Linked DNA regions of Homo sapiens: regions 1, 2 and 4 are each linked to region 3. The links are contacts of gene promoters, found by promoter capture Hi-C in blood cells and fetal thymus (Javierre and others, 2016). All regions are on one chromosome and are shown on one strand. Each heading gives the region's core, a stretch centred on a gene start or on the middle of the fragment in contact. The rest is flanking DNA. Distances are from core to core; before and after follow the strand shown.

The links. The method cuts DNA at HindIII sites, captures the fragments that hold promoters and counts their contacts. A CHiCAGO score of 5 or more calls a contact.
Region 1: a contact is called between a fragment that was not itself captured here and the fragment with the promoter of OR6S1 in region 3, in 5 of 17 cell types (naive B cells, naive CD4 T cells, neutrophils and 2 more). The highest score is 7.0, in naive B cells.
Region 2: a fragment that was not itself captured here is called in contact with the fragment with the promoter of OR6S1 in region 3 in 1 of 17 cell types (monocytes); the score reaches 5.6 in monocytes.
Region 4: a contact is called between a fragment that was not itself captured here and the fragment with the promoter of OR6S1 in region 3, in 9 of 17 cell types (total CD8 T cells, non-activated CD4 T cells, naive CD4 T cells and 6 more). The highest score is 7.3, in total CD8 T cells.

What each region holds. Positions count from the first base shown.
Region 1 is chr14:20,380,729-20,383,428 of GRCh38, forward strand. TEP1 (telomerase associated protein 1) reads right to left here. Exons shown (of 55, transcript NM_007110.5): 27 at 2,446-2,625; 28 at 1,895-1,987; 29 at 1,496-1,628; 30 at 1,185-1,335; 31 at 825-958; 32 at 585-673; 33 at 203-317. Among named protein-coding and RNA genes, the nearest start is that of TEP1, 31 kb to the right of the region's middle. The HindIII fragment of the contact is 2,872 bases long and covers 1-2,700 here.
Region 2 is chr14:21,061,699-21,064,398 of GRCh38, forward strand. It overlaps a transcript of NDRG2 not described here and a transcript of ARHGEF40 not described here. Among named protein-coding and RNA genes, the nearest start is that of RNASE8, 5.2 kb to the left of the region's middle. The HindIII fragment of the contact is 1,708 bases long and covers 401-2,108 here.
Region 3 is chr14:20,640,281-20,642,980 of GRCh38, forward strand. OR6S1 (olfactory receptor family 6 subfamily S member 1) reads right to left here and starts at 1,411. Exons shown (of 1, transcript NM_001001968.1): 1 at 416-1,411. The coding sequence starts at 1,411. The coding sequence ends at 416. RefSeq lists an enhancer at 2,348-2,700. The HindIII fragment of the contact is 1,898 bases long and covers 503-2,400 here.
Region 4 is chr14:20,353,918-20,356,617 of GRCh38, forward strand. It overlaps PARP2 (poly(ADP-ribose) polymerase 2), which reads left to right. Exons shown (of 16, transcript NM_001042618.2): 8 at 168-330; 9 at 892-1,030; 10 at 1,835-1,898; 11 at 1,980-2,114; 12 at 2,390-2,517; 13 at 2,673-2,700. Among named protein-coding and RNA genes, the nearest start is that of PARP2, 12 kb to the left of the region's middle. The HindIII fragment of the contact is 1,841 bases long and covers 414-2,254 here.

The DNA of each region.
Region 1 (2,700 bases), core at 81-2,580, 260 kb before region 3:
AGAATCTCTGGTCCAAGAGATCAAGGTGAAAGGTCTCCTGAGAGTCACGTGCTCACCCTCTTGGCATTTTCAACTCGAAATGGAAATTTGAATCTTTTTTCCCTGACACCCACACCCCTGCCCCAACCCTGAGCAGGGCCCCCATAAGCACACCCAGGAGTCCCATATCTCAGAGAAGAACCCAGCCAGTGACTCATCTCACCATAGAGGGCATGGGCCTCCAAGAGCCGAGAGACCAGACCCAATTCCAAGTGTGCAGCCACCACATGGAGGTTGGTAAGGAACTTCGAAAGAAGTCCACGGTTCCCGCTCTGGAGCTGAGAAGGTCAGATTGAATTCATTAGGGATATGAAGGGGCTGGTGAGAAGGGACAGTTTAGTCTCAGAACCTGGATACAGAGATAGGATCTGAGCTGGGACAAAGGACTTGAAGAAGAAGGGCAGGAAAACTGAAAGGAAAGAGGTCAAGGGAGTTTGGGAGGGGTAATGGCGGCGGTGATGGTGGAGATGGTAACGGGGAGAGGGGTCTCAGAGCAACCAAAGCACTCACTTTGGGAAAGGTGTCTATGGGGTCTAGGAACTAACCAGGTGGTAAGGCAGGTCTCCCAGAGCCTCAGGAGGGCAACTTCGGAAGGTGCCTGAGGCATCAGCGTCACATGTCTTCCAGAGCTGAGCTGCATGAACAGATATTGAGAAAGGCTCAGCCCTGCATCATTCCCAAGGGCAGTAGGTGAGCTGGCCAGCAGATGGGAGCACAGTGGGTGGTCCTGGCCTCCAGGCCCAAGCCCCACACTCAGTGCCCAGGCTGACTTGGGCTGCAATCACCTGCAATGAGGATGTGTGCCGTGTCCTCTAGCCCTGGCCTCTTCCCATAGCAACGTTTAGCTGCTGTTCTCAGGGGCCCATCAGGGAGGCACAGCCGGGCACCAGGGCGCTCCAGAGGGCCCTCCCCTAGCAAACTGTCCTCGTGTGAGGAAGGGAGAGAGAAGAAGGAAGAGGCCTGTCAGTGAGCTTCCTGGCACACAGTGGGCTCCTATTCCCCCCTCAAATAGCGGAAACTGGAGCAGCTGGAGCAGTAGCTCATTCATGGTCTGGGAGCCAGTTGTTGAAGCTATACAGAGGGCCCCGGCTCAAAGAAGGGAAGGCACAGAGAGGTCAGCGGGAGCTCTGCTGGGGCACCTGTACCTGCGCAGACTCTGGACGAGGCAGGCAAACGGGCCCATGGGGTAGGGGTCTCCACTGTTACCAGCAGCCACTGCTTCTTCCCAGCTCTTAGTCCCCTTCGGTAGTGTCCGCCACACACTCAGCACTCCGTGCAGCTGGTCCACAGTCAAACCTGAAAACTCAAGCTCTCTGAGGCCCTCATCTAACCATACGGTGTCCCCGCCCCCACCACACCCAGTCTCTCCTTGAACTGCCTGCTGAGACCCCAAGGGAACCAATGTAATCCGAACCCTGGCCCTCAGCCTCCCAACCAACCCACCCCAAGCACTGACCACTCCGTGTGACTTCTAGGGCAGTCAAGGCCTGGGGAAGGACATCAGGCCCGTGCTCCTTCTCCAGTGTGCTCAGGATGTGCTGCAGCAGCAGGGGGACAGTGGCAGGCAGGGTCCGGAGTCTCTCAGACACCTAGGATGGCGGGAGGACAGCCTTGTTCAGTGCAGTGGGAGGAGAAGCAGCTTGGCTTGTGGGATAGGGAAGGGGCAGCAGGAGGACAGTGTGGAGGAATGAAAAAGTAAAGAACAACAGTAGGAGGGAAGTGAGGCGAGGTATGAGGCGAGGATAGGGAGTGGGTGATCACAAGACAGCAAAGGACGTGGGATAGGGATGAGACAAAGCAGCTGAAGAGAGAATGGGAAGTAGTGATTAGGACTTGGAAGGTGATGAGAACTGACCTGCTCATACAGCGTGAAGAGCCTCAGGTGATCGGTGACCAAGCGCAGGTAGAGCGGCCGGCCTGATTCCCGCTTCACCAGCAGCAGTCGCATCTGGCAAGACTCAGGACTCAGGGTGGGGTCCAGGAGGGCTGCCCGCAGCCAGCCCTCTGCCCCAGCACCAGCCCCTCTGCCAGGCAGCTCCTCCTCTGAGAGTCCCCAGCAGACGCCAGGTCCATGGCATCATCCCAGGACACAAACCATCCCTCTCCTACGCTGCTCTGCCCAGCCAGCCCTGCCAGAAAACCCCTGTGGCTCGGCCTACCCCACCAAAAACCACTTGACTCATCCCCTCACCCCGAGAGGCCCTGGAAAGGCCATTCACCGGGGGAAGAGGGCTGGGTGACATGATCAGGAATCACAATTTTCTTATTAACAACTTCCCATGGACAGAATTTCTGAGAAAACAAAGGAGCAGGTCTGTGCAAGGCAGCTAGCGGCCTCGGCACCCCAGGTCCTCATAGCTCCCAGATTCACCCCACACACCCACCGGCCCCGGCCTAGAACCCAACCTGGTTGTTAAATGGTGACTCCTCCAGCCGCTTCCCGTACAGGGCCAGCTCCTCTCTCACCAGCCGGGCCCGAGCAGAGGCCTCCAGAGGCCCCAAGGCCAGCACGTGGGCACCCTGGCTCTGCTCAAGGGTCTCCCCTAGGCCTGCATCACTAGACACACTCAGCACCAGGTGTACACACTGTGATATTTGGGCAAAGGGGCAGGAAGGTAGAAAGAAAAGGAGAACCACATTGGAGAGGCCTCTCTCCTCCGT
Region 2 (2,700 bases), core at 5-2,504, 420 kb after region 3:
AAGTATAGAAATGTTTAAAAGAATCAACACATAGCGTTAACATGTTTGTATTAAGGAATTTGTATTAGGCTTGTCATTCTAATTTAAAATGCACATGGTTTGAAATGAAACTTTCCTTTAAAATTAGTTTTGGATCATGTAAGAAAACATAGAAATTGAATCATCCTATTTAGAAATTGTTAGATTTATAAAGGTTTTTAAGTATTCAGGAATGTTTTGCTGGTTAGCTCAAATGCCCAAATTACTTTATAAGGACATGGAATATATATTGAATTTATAAAATATCTCTTTTAATGTTTAAAGAGTTTCATTAACTACTTACAAATAAGATCAAATAGTCGGTGAATACAATTCTTTAAAGTGATTATTAGAATTTATTTCTATGTAAGTTAAACATAAAAGCTTAAGGAAGCTGATTTATAACTTTAACATAGGAAACATAAGTGTTAAAAAGCCAAGTAGCCTCTAAATACTCTTTGTTGGACACAAAAGAAACATTTTAAAAACTCACATTGACACTACAAGACCGATTCATGTTCTATGATATTTTCATCTGTACTGCACAGTGGGCTTTGGTGATTATATTTTCCGGTGTTAATATGTTTGTTGATTTTGCTGGGGCGTTTAGTAGGGAGGGAAGCTCAAGGCTCAGGCTCAAGGGCATGCGACTGGCAGTGGAGCCCTCAGAGTGGAACCTGGACCTCTGTCTCTCCTCAGCATTCTCCTCCCTCTGCACTGTGCTGCCTTCAGTTGGGTTATTTTTCTGACTTGGGAATGGGAGTATTATATCCTAGAAAAACTGAGAAAGGTGAGCAGGGTTTGCCTGAGGCCCGTGTAGGGGTGGCAGAGGATTTCAGCAAAATATACTCCCAGAAAAAGTAAAACTCAAAGGCTGTGGTCAGGTCTCCACCCTTTATAGGGACTTTTCCTCCTTGGCCAAACTTGGAGTTTGAGACTACTTTTACTAAGTAGAGTAGCTTTTAAAATGTAAACAAAACAGGCTGGGCACAGTGTGTGTGTGTGTGTGTGTGTGTGTGTGTGTGTGTGTTTTGTTATTTGAGATGGAGCCTCACTCTGTTGTCCAGGCTGGAGTAGTGCAGTGGTGCGATCTCAGCTCACTGCAACCTCCACCTCCCAGGTTCCAGTGGCTCATGCCTATAATTCCAACACTTTGGGAGGCTGAGGCAGGAGGATCAATAGAGCCCGGGTGTTCAAGACCAGCCTGGGCAGTATAGTGAGACCTTGTCTCTAAAAAAAAAAAAAAAAAAATTGTTTTAATTAGCCAGGTGTAGGGGTGCACACCTGCCTGTAGTTCCAGCTACTGGGGATGCTGAAGTGGGAGGATTGCTTGAGCCCAGGAGGTGGTGGTTGCAGTCAGCTGAGATTTCACCACTGTACTCCAGGCTGGGCAACGGAGCGAGACCCTGTCTCAAAAAGGAAACAAAAGCAAAAACAAAAAACGGATTTTAAGCAACCAGTTTCTTCAGTAAATTAGAGTGCCTGCCTAAAAGTGGTGTGTATGTGTGTGTGTGTATGTGTGTGTGTGTATATAAACACACACGTGTTCAGGGTGAGGAAGTAAAGTTCTGTTAATGGAATTAGGAGTGCTATATTCCGCCAATTACAGATCTTTTGGGATTCCAAACTCCTCATCTGAAGTGCAAATATCTATTGGCACAAATAAGATAATGTAACAATTACTTGGAATCAATCACTTAGGTGTTGGATTTGGCTTGGGGTTATTTGGAGGCAAGGCAAGGATATAGGTTTTGTAATTGGGGGGTCTTATGCGTATGTTCAACATGGGCAGAGACCTGGAGGTAGACACTAAGTACAAAAAAAAAGGAAATGTCAAGGAACTAGAGACAAAGTTTTATCCGCTGCTTGGCAGTTCTGAAGTCTGGAGGATGGGAATGACTTCACGCTGTTGGAATTCCTAGATTGTCTGCTCCAGAAGACTGACTCTGCTGGGGGTCTGCCAATGAGAGCTGAGGCCACTGCTAGCTATAACAGGCACAGGTTATGTCTTAATAAATGTTCATTTAACAAAATGTGGTTTTGGAGCAAAGGGCTGGGGGTAGGAAAATGTACAGATCACAAATCTGGAAAGCTTATAAACAATTTCTTTAAAAGCTCTCTCATTATGCTTAAAATTTTTCAGTGAGAGGGAATTTACCTATGGAGATAGCTTGTCCCATTTTCAGGCAACTCTAAGTATTCAAAACTCCCTTACATAGAACCGAATCTGCTTCTTTATAACTGCAACAATTCACTGATGCCCTACCGCTTTGAGCCATTCAGAGTAAGCCCAATTCCTCTTCACAATCAACCTTTTTAATATTTTAAGAGTGTTTCATGACCCCTGCCCTCCACATATTGCCACATCTGGCAGTAACAAATGTTATAAAATGGCTCCTACCATTTGACCCAATAATTCCATTTTGTAAAATATGTCGAATGGGAATAATTCAAAGTGCGGAGGAGTACATTTCTACAAATCTTTTTATACCTTTTCTTCATACAATGGAGAAAAGTTAAACATAATATAAATTCCCTAAAATTGAGAGTGACTAAATGAATAGTGAACAACCACTTGATGCCTTTTTTTTTTTATTATTTTTGAGACAGAGTCTCTCTCTGTTGCCCAGGCTGCAGTGTAGTGGCGTGATCTTGGCTCACTGCAACCTCTGCCCCTTGGGT
Region 3 (2,700 bases), core at 161-2,660:
AATGAAGACGGAAAGGAGCATGATAATGAGAATATTTGGATTTTAAAATATGATTTTTAAAAATGACAACAAGACCAGGTGTGGTGGCTCACACCTGTAATCCCAGCACTTCGGGAGGCTGAGGTGGGTGGATCACTTGATGCCAGGAGTTTGAGACTAGCCTGGTCATCGAGTGAAACCCCATCTCTACTAAAAATACAAAAATTAGCCAGGTGTGGTGGTGGGCACATGTAATCCCAGCTACTCAGGAGGCTGAGGCAGGAGAATTGCTTAAACCCAGGAGGTGGAGGTTGCAGTGAGCTGAGATCGCGCCACTGCACTCCAGCCTGGGCGACAGAGTGAGACTTTCTCTCTCTCTCTCTCAAAAAAAAAAAAAAAAAAAAAAAAAAAAGACTAGTTACTAGACTCTTCACTTTTACTTTACTGCTTTCTCACTGAGACATTTATCAAGTAAAAGATTCCCTAAAACGCCTGCCACTACCTTCCTAAACATGTCCTTCAAAGCTTCCTTGACTTGCTCATTACGTAAGGCATAGATGAATGGATTCAACAGTGGTGTCACAAATGTCGTTATTACTGTCACTGCCCAGTTAGTGTCCACAGAACCACTCTGCGATGGCCGCACATAGAGAAAAATGGCACTTCCATAGAAGAGGGTCACCACTATCAAGTGGGAGGTACAGGTAGAGAAGGCCTTCTGACGGCCTGAAGCAGAGGGGATGCTCAGGACTGCCAGCACAATGAGGCCGTAGGACACAGCAGTGATCAGCAAGGAAGATACAATGACGAGGGAGGCCAGGACAAAGTCAGTCTCCTCCAGCTTCTTGGTGTTGGTGCAAGCCAGGCGGAGCAGTGGGCCACTGTCGCAGAAGAAGTGCTGTACCACAGCACCCTGCTTACAGAAAGGAAGCAAGGCCACAGCCACTGTGGGACCAAGCACAGGGACGAGTCCCCCCACCCAGCAGGCCAAGGCCACACGAAAGCACACAGCCCCACTCATGAGCAAGGGGTAGCGCAGAGGATGACAGATGGCCAGGTAGCGATCCGCAGACATGACAGCCAACAGTAAGAACTCGGAGGCCCCGAGAAAGAAGTAGAAATAGAATTGGGTGATACATGCAGCAAAGGAAATAGTGTGTTGCCTTGAGAGGAAATTGCTCAGCATCTTTGGAATGATGACAGAAGTGAGCAGTATCTCTAGGCAGGACAGGTTACCCAGAAAGAAGTACATAGGGGTCTGTAGTCGAGTATCAGCCCTTACCACCCCCACAATCAACACATTGCCTGTCAGATTCAGGAGATAGACAAGAAGAAACACAGAAAATAATTCCACTCTTGCGCTGTTGAGATTTGGGAGCCCTGCCAGGACGAACTCTGTTGGATCACTACTGTGGTTCCCATCAGGACTCATTGTCTTTTTCACCTGTCCAACAACAAAAACATGATCCTGGTAAGAGCAGGTCCTCTGCTTACAGTCCTGAAACTTACTTCATCATGATATGGGACTCATATCCCCAGTTTATCCAATTGCAGGTCCTGTTAAGATCTGAAGCACTTAAGGTCATCATCTGATTGATTTTAGCACTAGAGAAGATTTTCTCTAAAGGGTAACAAAACTTAGGTATGAAAATGCCAGGAGCCTCCATCTCCTCCATCTTCACATATCCTGTTCTCAGATCTTAAATAATGACACCTCATTATTGTAATAACAATATCACTGAGCATCTGAGTTGGGCAAAAATATCTGAAAAAGGATTTTGTGAAGAATATGATTACCATTCAACTGGGATCAGAACTTGAGTCAGACTACCTAGTTTTAAATTCCTGCATCTCCACTTACTGGCTGAGTAGCCTTGGTAAGGTTACTTACCCTCTCTGTGCTCCTCAGTTGTGAAATGCTGTAAGGAGCAAATGATATAATAGTGCAAAGAATTTAAGAGTGTCTAGTACTTAACTTAAAAATTATATGGCAGAGAAAGCCCCTGGCTATAAGTTAGGACACCAGAATCTAGGCTTGGCTTGCCATTACTCTTGGAAGATTATCAATTTGTACTTTAACTGTCCAACTGTACAATGAGTCACAGGAATCTAGGCCATTAGTATACCTAATGAAATTATATAAAATTACCCTTTCCGGCAGGACGCAGTGGCTCATGCCTGTAATCCCAGCTTTTGGGAGACCGAGGCGGGCGGATCACTTGAGGCCAGGAGTTTGAGACAAGCCTGGCCAACATGGTGAAACCCCGTCAGATGTTTGTCAGAGCCAAAATTATGAATTTCTGACCGCAACTATTAATAAAAAATTATGTTCTTATTCTTTGATTCTTATTCTTTGCTTCAAGTCCTCCCAGTTCTGAGGACCACCACCAGTTAGAAAAATCAAGTCCATTATATCCAGAAAGCTTGTTTAAAAATGCCTCAGGTATCAGGAGAATCCTTACTCCCTTTTGACAGAGCAGGAGCACCATCGTCTTGGACAAACACTGCCACTTTAAGTTTCAGCTCCCTTTCTAGCCTCATGCATTTCAAAGAAATCACTTCTCTTCTAACTACAGGCAGCCAGAAAGAGCAGACAGTAAAACACAGATAAGACAGCTCGGGCACAGAGGGAGGTGAGGGGAAATTCTTTTGGGTAACCGCCAAACTTCACCATCATACAATGGGCCCCAGTAAAACGATGGGCCTTAATAAGCACCTTTC
Region 4 (2,700 bases), core at 84-2,583, 290 kb before region 3:
TTCTGTACTGAACCTGTACAGCCTTTTTTTCCTTGCTTCTCATTATTCCCTAGACAGTGCAATATAAAAACTTTACAAAGCATTTACATTGTATAATATTGGGTGTTATAAGGAATCTAGAGATGATTTCTTAGATTGTCTTGTGTTTTGTTTGTTTTTTGCTATAGGATGAAGAGGAAACAAAGAAAGAGGAATCTCTTAAATCTCCCTTGAAGCCAGAGTCACAGCTAGATCTTCGGGTACAGGAGTTAATAAAGTTGATCTGTAATGTTCAGGCCATGGAAGAAATGATGATGGAAATGAAGTATAATACCAAGAAAGCCCCACTTGGTAGGACTTCACATTTTCTTCTGCATTCTCTCCTTATAATTCCTAGCTCCTTTAATGGATACTTTATTATCATTATGATTTAAAGCTTGCTCATAGTACTGAATGAAGAAAATGGGATTTGGGGTGACAGGTTGTATGGAGGGAAGAGGAACTATTTTGAAAGTTGAGGCTGGGTGTGATGGGTCATGCCTATAATCCCAACACTTTGGGAGGCCAAGGCAGGTGGATTGCTTGAGCCCAGGAGTTTGAAACCAGCCTGGGCAACATGGTGAGACCCCATCTCTACTAAAAATAGAAAAATTAGCCAGGCATGGTGGTGTGTGCCTGTGATCTAGCTACTTGCGAAGCTGAAGTGGGAGGATCACCGGAGCCCAGGAGGTTGAACTGCATTTAGCTGTGTTTGTGCCACGGCACTCAGCCTGGGCAACAGGAGTGAGACCCCATCTTAAAAACAGGAAAAAAAAAAGTTGAAAGATGAAAGTCTTTTTTAGGGAAGGATGTTAAGTACAGTTCACTAGATGGGATCCTAGTTTGGAGTCTGATCTCTGGGTGGGCCTGCAGGGAAGCTGACAGTGGCACAAATCAAGGCAGGTTACCAGTCTCTTAAGAAGATTGAGGATTGTATTCGGGCTGGCCAGCATGGACGAGCTCTCATGGAAGCATGCAATGAATTCTACACCAGGATTCCGCATGACTTTGGGTAAGGCCTGTGCTGTTACTTCACTTTGTTCTTCTACCTATACATATCCCCTGTATCCATCAGCAGCAGCTATAATCTTTTAAATCTTTTATTCCTAAGAAAATGATCGTCTTGAATAGGTACAGAAACAAAATGATATATAGGTAGCCTATTTAATCAGCTTACAAATATGGGATGCAATCTCCCGGCTTGACCACAGCCATATTCTCTGACAAAGTGGAAGTTACCAACCCAAGAGAGAATGGGTCTAGCTATCCAACCACCCAAGTAAAACACCTTCAGGCATATCACCCCCTTTTCCTATTTGAGTAACTAAAACCACACAAACACCATTTCTGTGAACTCAAGTGATATTAGATAGACAAAATAACATTTTACATTTGTTGATTCTGTTTTCTGGTTTACATCCGATTTCTATTTCTTTTATAGCTTTATAGAGCCCCGTGACCTAGAAATAACCCTGAGTGGTCAACAGGTCTACCTGTGCTTCTAGATAGAACTGTATCCAACTGTTCCCTGTTGATATCAATATAACTTATTTTTAAATGATTTTATAAAAAATAATTTTAACTCTAGTCTCAAAAGTCAAAATCCACATAGTTCATCTTATACCGAGTATATATTTAATATTATTTTATATATTTGGAAGTTAAGATCTCTTTACAGATCTCTTTCTCTCTCAAATGGAAAACCTGTTTCTCATACCTGTTTTCTAAAGGACCTATCTGTCATTTTCTATTTTTAGTCATGCGCCTTTTAGCCACATGTCAGAAAGCTCATTATGGGTTATATCTCTGTTCTTAGACTCCGTACTCCTCCACTAATCCGGACACAGAAGGAACTGTCAGAAAAAATACAATTACTAGAGGTGAGATATGTATGATTTGAGAAGTATTATATCCCTTATACCAGTGTCCTCCCACATTGATTCTATATCTCATCTTCTCAGGCTTTGGGAGACATTGAAATTGCTATTAAGCTGGTGAAAACAGAGCTACAAAGCCCAGAACACCCATTGGACCAACACTATAGAAACCTACATTGTGCCTTGCGCCCCCTTGACCATGAAAGTTATGAGTTCAAAGTAAGAAAAATGATCATTTATTTTCATATTCTTGCACCCTTAACCACCTCCCCCATCCCACTGTTCTCTAACTACTTCTTGTCAAGAGCAAATTGTCAATTAGGGCAGACTTTTTATGTACTAGGGATTTGGGAAGGCCAAGCTTTTCCTAGCTGCCTTGTAAGACTGTTTGGGAGCAGAAAGGTCTGCCAAGTTATATCAGAATCCCCAAATTCTTCAGTTCAGCTCAGTCTCTTGTAGAGTCTACATCAGCCTTTTTGTCTTATTTTTCACAGGTGATTTCCCAGTACCTACAATCTACCCATGCTCCCACACACAGCGACTATACCATGACCTTGCTGGATTTGTTTGAAGTGGAGAAGGATGGTGAGAAAGAAGCCTTCAGAGAGGACCTTCATAACAGGTCTGAGTCTAGCTTTGCGTTTGGAAAGACACTCCTTGCCCGAAAGTACAGCTGTAGAACTTATAAGAGGGAGTCAGAGGAAGGTGTTGGCTTTTTTATGCTTATGGCCTATCTGTGCAGAACAACAGAGTACAATAATATTGGCTTTTCCTTAGGATGCTTCTATGGCATGGTTCCAGGATG